2 separate regions of the Homo sapiens genome follow, and region 1 is linked to region 2. The links are contacts of gene promoters, found by promoter capture Hi-C in blood cells and fetal thymus (Javierre and others, 2016). All regions are on one chromosome and are shown on one strand. The core of a region is centred on a gene start or on the middle of the fragment in contact, and the rest is flanking DNA. Distances in the headings are between cores, read along the strand shown.

The links. Contacts are between HindIII fragments. The CHiCAGO score rates a contact against its expected background, and 5 or more counts as called.
Region 1: a fragment that was not itself captured here is called in contact with the fragment with the promoter of PAXIP1-AS2 in region 2 in 1 of 17 cell types (total B cells); the score reaches 9.4 in total B cells.

What each region holds. Positions count from the first base shown.
Region 1 is chr7:157,336,825-157,342,483 of GRCh38, reverse strand. It overlaps DNAJB6 (DnaJ heat shock protein family (Hsp40) member B6), which reads right to left and starts at 5,480. Exons shown (of 10, transcript NM_058246.4): 1 at 5,340-5,480. RefSeq lists enhancers at 1,425-1,945, 4,248-4,297, 5,026-5,529, 5,530-5,659 and silencers at 4,958-5,147, 5,208-5,417, 5,608-5,659. The HindIII fragment of the contact is 678 bases long and covers 3,626-4,303 here.
Region 2 is chr7:154,923,565-154,929,766 of GRCh38, reverse strand. It overlaps PAXIP1-AS2 (PAXIP1 antisense RNA 2), which reads right to left and starts at 1,250. Exons shown (of 8, transcript NR_024476.1): 1 at 1,000-1,250; 2 at 743-811. RefSeq lists enhancers at 620-839, 990-1,089, 1,110-1,169. The HindIII fragment of the contact is 7,419 bases long and covers 1-2,575 here.

The sequences.
Region 1 (5,659 bases), core at 2,715-5,214, 2.4 Mb before region 2:
TGCCTGTAATCCCATGTACTCGGGAGGCTGAGGCAGGAGAATCGCTTGAACCTGGGAGGCAGAGGTTGCAGTGAGCTGAGATTGCACCACTGCACTCCAGCCTGGGCAACAAGAGTGAAACTCAAAAAAAAAAAAAAAAAAAAAAAAAAATTAGCCAGGATAGTGGCACGTGCCTGTAATCCCAGCTACTCCGGAGCCTGAGGTAGGAGAATCACTTGACACTAGGAGGCGGAGGCTGGGGTGAGCTGAGATCACGCCACTGCACTCCAGTCTGGGTGACAGAGTGAGACCCTGTCTCAAAAAAAATTATTATTATAATAAAATAGGGCCAGGCTCGGTGCTTCACACCTGTAATCCCAGCACTTTGGGAGGCCAAAGCAGGTGGATCACCTGCTTCCAAACCAGTCTGGCCAACATGGCAAAACCCACTCTCTACTAAATATACAACAATTAGCCAGGTGTAGTGGCGAACGCCTGTAATCTCAGCTACCAGGGAGGCTGAGGCAGGAGAATCGCTTGAACCCCAGAGGTGGAGGTTGCGGTGAGCCAAGATCGCGACACTGCACTCCAGCCTGGGTGACAGTGTGAGACTCTAAAATAAACAAAGCAACACTCGGTTAAGTACTCAGTCTCCAGTGCTGCTGAAACTTATTTTTTCCAACTTTCTTGAATTCTGGATTCCATTATTAATCACAGGAAGGTCATCAGGACATACACAAACTAGAAAGAATCTAATTCAATCAATACTTTCTAAGCACTCTGTGTCCTGGACATTCCTATAAACACAAATAACTTCAGATTCAAAGCCCACCCAAGTGGTACATGCCATCTCAAGGTGGCAGAGAGGAATAAGTATTAGTACACAGTTCATAAGCATACCAACTAGAGCACACACGTATATATGCACAACACAAATATAAAACACACTTTTAATTTAAGCCTTTGGTGGCAAAAGGTAAGTAGAAAAATATCAAAGGGGGAAAAATCATATGTAGTGTAAACTAAATCACCCTTCCAAAGACACGTAATTTTGCAACACAGCTTAAGAATTCTAAAATATGGCCTGGCGCAGTGGCTCACACCTGTGATCCCACCACTTTGGGAGGCCGAGGCGGGTGGATCACGAGGTCAAGAGTTCAAGACCAGCCTGGCCAAGATGGTGAAACCCCCGTCTCTACTAAAAATACAAAAATCAGTCGGGAGCAGTGGCAGGTGCCTGTAATCACAGCTACTCGGGAGGCTGAGGCAGGAGAATCGCTTGAACCCGTGCGGCAGAGGTTGCAGTGAGCCGAGATGGCGCCACTGCATCCAGCCTGGGCAATATGAGATTCCATCTCAACAACAACAAAAAAATCTAAAATCTGGCCAGGCACCTGGCTCACACTTGTAATTCTAGCACTTTGACAGGCCGGGATGAAAGACTCACTTGAGGCCAGGAGTTCGAGACCAGCCTGGGCACACAGGGTGATTCCACCTGCGCGCGCGCACACACACACACACACACACACACACACACACAGCCAGGTGCGGTGGGTCACGCCTGTAATCCCAGCACTTTGGGAGGCGGAGGCAGGGGATCACCTGAGGTCAGGTGTTCGAGACCAGCCTGACCAACATGGTGAAACCGTCTCTACTAAAAATACAAAAATTAGCCAGGCGTGGTGACACGCGCCTGTCATCCCAGCTACCTGGCAGGCTGAAGCAGGAGAATGGCTTGAACCCAGGAGTGCAGTGAGCCAAGACCGCGCCACTGCACTCCAGCCTGGGACACAGAGCAAGGACTCCATCTCAAGTAAATCAGTCAGTCAACTAATCATCAATCAATATTCCTTCTCAAGTAGGATATCTCCAGGAACATGAAACAGGTCAACAGTGATTTATGTCCATACAAAAACATAAAGGGTTTTGTTTGACAAAACACCTCATTAATATCAATACAAAAAAAAAAATCACATTTTTACTAGTTGACTTTTCTGCAGGTAGGCGTTGTCGTTTTTCCATTCCTACATCATCGTTTCTAACATATTCTTGTTTTCACCAACTTTGCTCTTCTTCTCATTAACCTCATTTTTTTGAGTTTGATATTCTCAAATTCTATTCATCCTTGAACTACACCATTTGCTAAATCCTGCCACTGATCCTACTCTTACTCGCTAATGAGCCTGCAGTTACCCGCCTCTCACCACCAGGTGGGGTCCTGCACAAATTTAACCAAACCACATTTTGAACAGAATCATTTCTGAGGAAATGAAAAAGTTTTAAAAAGGTTTCCAAAAAACGCTGTTAATCCAGTGTGTAACCTCGATGCAAATAAATACTAAGAAGTAAAAATCCCGTCAAAACGTCAACTCACAAATACAAAGGCTAATTACATTCTCTTATTCCTCAACAGATATCTGTAAGCATTAACCAATATAGAAGCTGACCTTTACAGCAGACGACAGTAAGGTGTCTGTGCGGTCCCGCGGTGACACCCAGTCCACAGCGACACGTTCAGGATGACTAAAAATACCTGCCCAAGTTATGAAGTGCCCTCTTATAATACTCTTTAAAGTGACAGCCGGACGCGCGGGCTCACACCTGTAATCCAGCACTTTGCGAAGCCGAGGCGGGTGGATCACCTGAGGTCAGGAGTTCGAGACCAGCCTGAACAACATAGTGAAACCTCGTCTCTAATAAAAATAGAAAAAATTAGCTGGGCGTGGTGGCGCATGCCTGTAATCCCAGCTACTCGGGAGGCTGAGGCAGGAGAATCGCTTGAACCTGGGAGGCGAAGTTGCAGTGAGCCAAGATGGTGCCATTATACTCCAGCAGGGGCAAGAGCTAAACTCCATCTCACACACACACACACACACACACACACACACACACACACACACACAAAAGGCCGGGCGCGGTGGCTCATGCCTGTAATCCCAGCACTTTGGGAGGCCGAGGAGGCGGATCACGAGGTCAGGAGATCAAGACCATCCTGGCTAACACGGTGAAACCCCGTCTCTACTAAAAAAATACAAAAAAATTAGCCGGCTGTGGTGGCGGAAGCTTGAAGTCCCAGCTACTCGGGAGGCTGAGGCAGGAGAATGGTGTGACCCCGGGAGGTGGAGCTTGCAGTGAGCCGAGATCGCGCCACCGCATTAATTACGGCCTGGGCGACAGAGCAAGACTCCGTCTCAAAAAAAAAAAAAAAAAAAAAAAAAAAAAAGGTGCAAACAGACCATTCCACCCCCACCTCAGACCTGGATTTAGGTTATCTAGGTTGAAGACTGATGAGGGTGACGGGTACCACTGTCCAAAACAGAGTTAATAGAAGGGAATTACGGGCTTGCTTAAAAATGAAAGCTAATGTACGCCACTCAGTAACAGGTATCACACTGTAATACCATATGCATATTTTAGTCTTCACAACATTCAACACTCCCCACCTAGTGTTCCGGAAAAACTGTCCTACAGCCAGAATTACTTCCCAAACCTAACACTTTCATATCCAGAAGAAAATAAATTTTAAAACACTGTTTTGAAGAGAGTGCTGAACTCATCTCAAATTCTTTAAGAGCTCTGCCCTCTGGAATTCCCAACTTTCTCACCTTCCACAGCACAGATGAAGCCTGGACACTTTCCAAAAGCTTCCCAACCCCTTTGTTCTCCCACTTCCTGTCAAATCTCCACATCTACCAACTTAAGGCAACTTACTTCCCAAATTTCACAGCCTGCGTAATCCACAAAAACCCGCAGCTCGCTGAAGCGTGCATAAAAACTATTCATCCCTTTATCACGGAAGGCAGAAAGAAATGTGAAAGCACAAACTCCAAGGGAGCTTAAGGCCCTCAGGAGTGGAAACAAGTCTGGAGTCGGCGAGGCGCGGTGGCTCGCGCCTCTAATCCCAACACTTTGGGAGGCCGAGGCAGGCGATCACTTTAGGTCATAAGTTCGAGACCAGCCTGACCAACACGGTGAAACCCCCGTCTCTACTAAAAATACAAAAATTAGTCGGACATGGTGGCGAGCACCCGTAACCCCAGCTACTCAGGAGGCTGAGGCAGGAGACTCGCTTGAACCTGGGAGCTGGAAGTTGCAGTGAGTGGAGATCGCGCCACTGCACTCTGGCCTGGGCAACAGAACAGACTCCGTCTCAGGAAAAAAAAAAAAAGGAAGTCTGGAGTAAACCCAGAGAGAACGCGGGACGGGTGGACTGGCGGAGGAGTAAGGCGGCTGCATATAATTCCTTTCAGAAATCATGAATCGTTCTGATACGCAACACTATTTGGAAAAGTGCGGTTAAACACGAAGCAGCAGCAATCAAGCTTTAATGGTTAACGTCTGTTTCCTTTCTTCGGTCTTCACTCTAACTTTTCTACTAAATCAATAATTTGGCTTAAATTGTAGCGACAAATCCTTACTAAAATTCGCAACTCAATAAAAACGTTGAAAACTACAAAGAGCGCCGCTCAGCCTACTCTTCCCAAACAGGCTGAAGCCTCCGAGCTCGCAGGCGGCACCCCTTCGGTGGTGGCACGATCGTTCTACTTGCGCTGTTTCCTGCCCCGTTTACGTGAGAAGTTAGCACAGAAGTTTACGTCTGACTAGCAAACCCATCCTTTAAAAAATTCGCTAGTGCCAAAACCTTTCTCGAGCCAATATATGATTTGCAGTTTACACTGCGTGTGTCACTGACCTTCCTTAGGTAAGAGTTAATGTAAACTTCTTATATAAACTTCAGTTGCATCAACTACGGTGCAGATTCTTTAACGCAAAGCAAAGCAGACAAACATTCTGAGTGAGAAAGGCAGCCTGCTCTTCCACAAACTTCTGAACAATCCGTCCGGAGTTCTAGAAACAGGGCTTTGCGGTCCCCCACCTGCTTCTTCTCCCTCCGAACTTGGCGGCACGGCTGCGGCATTCCTGCTCCGCAAGCCACTCCCGTTTCTGGTTTCAGACGCGAGTGCGGGAGCCTTAGAAAAAGAAGGCGCTCCACGCCTCCCACGCTGCCGGCCCCGCCGAGCCCCAGCCGAGCCCCAGCCGGCCGCTCCCAGGCCGGGCCCCACCCCCAACCGCCGCCGCGGAGGCTGGGCCGCGTTCCGGCAAGGACGCCGGGCGGGGAGGACGCGGCCGGGCGGCCCCAGACCCCAGCCCCGGCCCCGGCCCCAGACCTGACCCAGAGGACCCCGCCCACCCTTCGCCCCGCAACCCCGGCCACGGCCCCCGCCCCGTCCAGTCCTTTCCCCGGCCGGCGACCCCGGTCACCCCCCGCGCTGTTGCCAGGCGCCGGGTGAGGTCCGCCGTCTGCCGGGCGCGCGCGGGGCCCTAGGCGACCTCCCCCGACCCTCGGAACAGACCCTCACCGAGGACAGAAGCGGCCGGTGGCGGGACGCAGGGGAGGCAGGGTGACGGCCCGAATCTCCTCACAGCTCCAGGACTGCTGCGCTGGTGGTGGCGGCGGCTCCTCGCGCTTTCCTTTCTCTCCTTTCTCCAACAACAAACAGGAAATGCGTCACGCGGCGGCGGCACGGCGGCGTCAACTTCCGCCCGACCCTGACGCCGCGCATGCGCAGTTTCCACTGCCCATACCGCGGGCCCAACCTCGGGGGCGCCCGCCCCACCTTCGCGAAGGTTCTCGGCTCTTCCGCCGCCCCGAAGAGCCCAGGAGACTGGGGGCGAGGGG
Region 2 (6,202 bases), core at 1-2,500:
TTCTGTCTATATTATTCCTGCCTGGATGACATAGTGAGGTCTTCACTGCTGGAGAAGGGAGGGCTGGTGGGCCAGAGGGGAGACCCTGCAGAGGTGTGCAGTGTCCTTCTCTGCTGTTCATCTCAACCCGCTGTGTTAGGAAACCAGGAGGAAGCCCTACCTGGAATGAAACAGGTGCCTAGAATGAAGAGGGTAAGGACAAGGTTTAAGACTGTGACACCTGTTGCTTAAGAGACGCATTTAGGAGTGTGGCATGTAGATCCCAAATGTCCGTTTTGTAAAAGTTGTTGTTATTGTTTCACTTTTGTTGTTGTTGTTTGTTTGTTTTGAGATAGAGTCTCACTCTGTTGCCCAGGCTGGAGTGCAGTGGTGCAATCACAGCTCCCTGCAGCCTCAACCACCTGGCTCAAGCACTCCTCCCACCTCAGTCTCCCGAGTAGGCGGGGCCACATGTGTGCACTGCCATTCCTGGCTAAGTTTTCTTTTAATTCTTTGTAGAGACAGGGTTTCCCTATGTTGCCCAGGCTGGTCTTGAACTCCTGGCTTCAAGCAATCCTCACACTTCAGCCTCCTAAAGTGCTGGGATTACAGGCGTAAGCCACCACGCCCAGCCTGTTGTTATTGCTTTGAAGGAGTTCAGGAAATGCCACCCCCATGGCACTTGGGAGTGCTGATCCCTGTGAGCTGAGGGCACTTGGGAATCAGCGGATGCAGGCAGAGGTTTCCTCTGAGCTCCCCTTACCTGCCTGAAGACGGATCCTCCAAAAGGAACTCAGCTGTCATGAATCGCCTCCCCAGGAATCTCGTCAATCTGGGAGGATTAACACAGATCACAGGAGAGGACACTGGAGGTGACATCAGCCCAGATGACTATCACCCGTTCTCCCGAAGGCGGCTCTGAGATGTTTACGACCTCAGAGACATTTCATCCACAGAGCAGCACAACCTTTACTCACCAGACAGTCCCTCCCCAGGCTCTCCCATCACTTGTGTTCTCACCTCCCCTGGAAGCCCCGGGAACTTCGAAGTAGGCTTCTGTGGACTCCTGCCACTTCATCAGTAGCTGGGGCCCTGGTACCAGCACAAACTGCTTGCATCCAACTGACTTCACCAGACATACGGGCGTCTTTGGTAAGACCGCTCTCAGGTTTTGAATCTCCCAGGTTTGGGCTGAGATTCAGATTTTATTTAAGTAAATGAATTTCATGCTCAGTGGGACTGATATTGAAGCCGCCATTTAGGGCTTTAAGGCAGGAGTTTCGCGTCATTTCTCTAAAGATTCTGCTATTGGCAGGTTTGTGGTTTCACTTTTCTATTAGGTTAAGTTTTCGTTCGTCTTACTTGCTCTTTTGTAACCTTTTCTCTCATTGGACATTTTACTTGCTCAAGTTTGTAACCTTTTCTCTCATTGGACATTTTTTTACTTGCTCAAGTTTGTAACCTTTTCTCTCATTTGACATTTGGTTAAAGAGAAAGCAGTTTTCTTTGTAAAAGGAGAAAGTGAATGTTTGTGGCTTAAGCCAAATTTGTGGCTTTAAACCAGCCAGGCTTTGGATCTTGGTTAACATTGAGATTTAAAGTTTCTTCCTGAGTCACCCAAAATTTGTAAAAGGTTGGAATGAGGACGTGATAAGCTGAAGACAAAAAGGACTCTTTCTCCCAGCTGAAAGGCACCTTAGGCAATGGAGGTAACACAAGGGTGTGGAAGCTCACAACAAACCCCAGAGAAGAACTCACAGGGAGAGCTGCTTAACCCCCGGGGCACACAACACACAAGGGGTTCGTCACCCAGTGCCTTGAACTCCCAGAAATGTCTGGGTTTCTCTGAGGTAGGTAAGAGGGAAGAAGCTACTTGTAGGTGATACCTCCAGGAATAATCCCTACTAAGCAGCACACTGGACCCCAAACACTTTTCCCTTTTAGCCTTTGGGCATTTTAAAAGAGAATCCAAATTATGAGCAATTATCCATCTATAACCAAGCCCTCATTAAGCAATGCACCTTTGGAAACTCCAGCGGGGTTTATGTACAAGACTTATGGCGCCACCTCCTGTCGATAGTTGGAGAAATGGTCTTATTTGACCTAAGAAGATCCTAAATTACAATGATCAAAGAGAATTATCTTTGAAATAGCTAGATTAGTTTATTTATATGCACAATTTTAAAAAGCCAGCTATGGAATCAAATAAAATAATTAAGAGAGTTACTTCCAATGGCACCCAGAAGCATCCAAAAGAGGTTTTGACAGAATTCTTCCCTTAGAGGAAGAAAATAAAAAGCACTCTAAAACCATTACTGAATTTTAAAAAACACTGAAATGTCTTCTTCTCTCCCTGCTCCCCTGTCTCTCTAAGCCTCCTTGTCAGAACTACCCAGCCCTGATTGACCTTCTCCTCCTCCTCCTCCTGCCCCTCCTCCTGCTCCCACTGGTTTGGCTCCATTTCATCCAGCATCTGGTAGAGGGGAACCTGCTTTATCAATCATGATCAAACTTACAGGCATAGTTAAAAGAATTCCTTGATCTTCACCAGGTTCCTATTGGTTTTGCTAGGAAATTTGAATTAAATATCCAAGCTTATGACCCTAGTTATTCTGACTTCTAGCAACAGATTCACATGTTAGTAGCAAAAATTAAAGCTAAAGGCTGGCTAGACAAAGCTCACTGGAGAAATCTGTTAGGGATCTTCATAAATGTTCAGAAGAGGACCATAGACAGGCTTGAAGAACAGCAAAGGCTTTGCATCAGGCTATCTCCTCAGTTTTTCAGAGTAGTCAACTGGAACAAAATACAATATCAACAAAATTCAGATGAGTCAGTAATATACTTTGAGGGCTGTGGAAAAAATTTTAAAGAATATTTAGTTTTATCCGAAGAAAGCTGTGCTAATCATCGAAATGATACTCGACTCCAGTTTAACAAATGAGTTAGATGAATTGGAACTAACAATGAAAAGACAAAGTTGGGCCACTTCTGATACTCATGATTTGGTCAGTCTCATTGACCGGTTATCTGATACCTTAACTGAAGAAGAAAGAGAGAGGGAAGCCAAACAAAAGAGCGAGGCTAATACAATTATGAATTTACAATTAAAACAACTATTCACACAATTTTGGCCTTCACAATACCCCTAGAAACTCCCTAATGGACCTAACCTTCCACTTTGCAATTTTTGCAAAAAGCATGATTACTTTCAAAAGAGTTGCCAAAAATGAAAAAGGAAAGAATGTTAACCAGTGGAGGCAGAAAAGAAAACAGGGGTGCTCCAAGGAACTTAAAGGGGCCTTTCATTTCCTCCTTACTAACACTGGGAGAAATAAAAATTATTATAAATGGAGAACTAACACAAGCACTTATTGACACTGGAGCCACATTATCTGGAATTAATCCCATCTTGGTACAAGGTCCCATTCCTTGCAGTAAACAAAGAATTCAAATGGTGGGCATCACAATCCTCCTGTATTGGCATACCAATCTCAGCCTGTAACCTTTCAACAGTGTTCGTTACAAGGAACTCATGCCCTCCTCTTTGTTCCATCAGACCCCATCCATTCAACAGGAAGAAACTGCTTAGAATTATGTGATACCCACATTTCTTTCTCTCAAAGGAAGGAAATATATTTAAAATTAGATTATAAAACTCAACTTTGAGACACAACAGATATTTTAATAAAATTTTCAAAATCTAATCCAATTGCAATCCATATTGCCATGAAAGACAATGAATTATTGCTTAATGAAGAATTACAAAATGTACTAAAGACAGTACTTGATCCATTGTGGTCAGTGTCCTCCATTGATATAGAAACTATCATCTCAGCTACTCCAATAAATATTTAAATATACCCATGGAAACATCTTCAAAATACAAGACAATACCCCTTGAGAACTAAAGCTCTAGGAGGGATAAAGCTTATAATGTCAGATTATATAGAAAGATGACTGTTCATTCCTTGTACAAGCCATTGTAATACCCCAATCCTCCTGGTAAGAAAACCAAATGTTAGAGAATGGAGGTTTGTACAAGACTTGAGAGCAATAAACAACATGGCAATCCCATGGCACCCTATACTGCACAAGCCTATGTTACTCACAGCCATTCCTTCTAATGTGGAATTCCTTACAGTCATAGACTTATGTAGTACATTCTTTAGCATTCTTGTAGACAAAAATAGCCAATTTCTCTTTGCCTTCACTTGGGAAAACAGACAATACACTGGGTCACACAGGCCTCCAAGGATATGCTGAAAGCCTGACTTACTTTTCAAAAATATTAAAAATAGGCCTCTCAGATGTTAATTTCCTGGAAATGCATACATTAATCCAGTAAATAAATGACTTCCATCTTGGAGAGCAAACAAGATGTTCTGTGAATGATGGGCTACATTTATTACAAAAGGCAGCCCTAAGAAAACAAAGTCTCTAAAGAGAAACTTCAATTTTGTCGAAGACAAGTGATATACTTAGGCCACCTAATATCCAAGGAAGGATGTTTTATTAATTCAGACAGACTAGAAAGGATCTCAGCTTTTTACAACCAAGAATGAAGAGATGGTTGAGTGGGATTTTAGGACTGGCAGGATATTGTAGAAATTGGATTCCAAATTTTTATTTAAAAGCCCAATCCTTATATGCCCTCCTTTTTGTTTTTAAGACAGAGTCTCACTTGGCTAATTTTTGTATTTTTACTTGAGACGGGGTTTCACCATGTTGGCCAGGCTAGTCTTGAACTCCCGACCTTCATTGATCCACCCATCTTGGCCTCCCAAAGTCCTGGGATTACAGGCATGAGCCACTGCGCCCACCTTCCTTATATGCCCTCTTAATAGAGAACTTTAAACCCTCTAGACTGGATAAAAGAAAGTCAACTAACATTAGAAATGACTAAGAATGGTCTTGCCAATGCCTCTTCTTTGGGGCATGTAAATTATAACCTCACATTTTCATTGTTTGTACATGAAAATGATGGAAATGCTTTAGATAATCTGACTCAGAAACATGAAGGCTGAAATAGACCTGTAGGGCATTACAGCCAACAGTTAGGCCCGGTAGCCAAAGGATTGCCTCTTTGCATGAGAGATATAACAGCAACCACCTTGTTCATTAAGATGACCCAAGGAACTGTGGTGGGAACTCCCCTTACTGTTTTTATCCCTCATTCTGTGGAAGCATCACTAAACTCACACCACACTGGACATTATTCAATTAGTAGACGAGCTTCACATGAGTTTTACTTCTTTCAGCTTCTCCTATCACCATCTCCAGGTGTAACCTAAATCCTGACACTCTTCTGCCTTCATTTTCAGATGAAACACTGCATAATCACATAGCCCCAGTTGATTGGCTCCTCTTTCCTAGGACTGACTTGCAAGAGACTCCACTGATTAATGCTGATGTTGTTTGAGTTACAGGCAGCTCTTATTTAAAGGATGGATCAGGGACTTACCGAGCAGGTTACACAACAGTATCTTCAACTGAAGAAATAGAAAGGCTTACCTTCCAGAAGCCACCTCACATCAACAAGCAGAATTGCATTGATCAGGGTTTGTCAGTTGGCGAAAGGAATAATTGTTGATAATATTCATTACTAATATTCAGTAAATATGCTTTCAGAGTAGCTCATGATTTTGGAATGCTATGGAAACAGAGGATTTTTCACCTCTTCTGGTCAATCCATAAAAAATGGACACCTCATTTCACAATTGTTGGGAGCCATATTATTACCAAAGTCACTGGCCATAATTAAAATTCCAGGCCATTCTAAATCAAACACTCCAGAAAGCAAAGGAAATCAGCTAGCTAATAAGGTAGTAAAAAGAGCTACTGTAAATGTATCTAAACAAGAAAAATAATCTACAGTAATCTTAAAAGAAACACCTGCATTTGTATAAAATTACCTCAATCTGGGCTCCAAAACCAGAACATAAAAGTTGGAAAGCAAAGAGGGGGAACATACTCCCCCAAAGACGAGGTATGATATGGATCAAACAACATGCTTCTACTTCATGCTGAATTTTTGTTATCATTTCTAACTTATGCACATGACATAACTCCCCAGAGCCTGACAGAGTGATTGCTTGAGGGAAACGATATTTTGGAAACCTTCTCTGACTGTAGCACACAGGATGTACAGTTGTTACCTTTGCCCCCAAAATAATCCAGGGAGGCCTCTGTCAAAGTATGGCAATTACATTCCGTCCAGTTG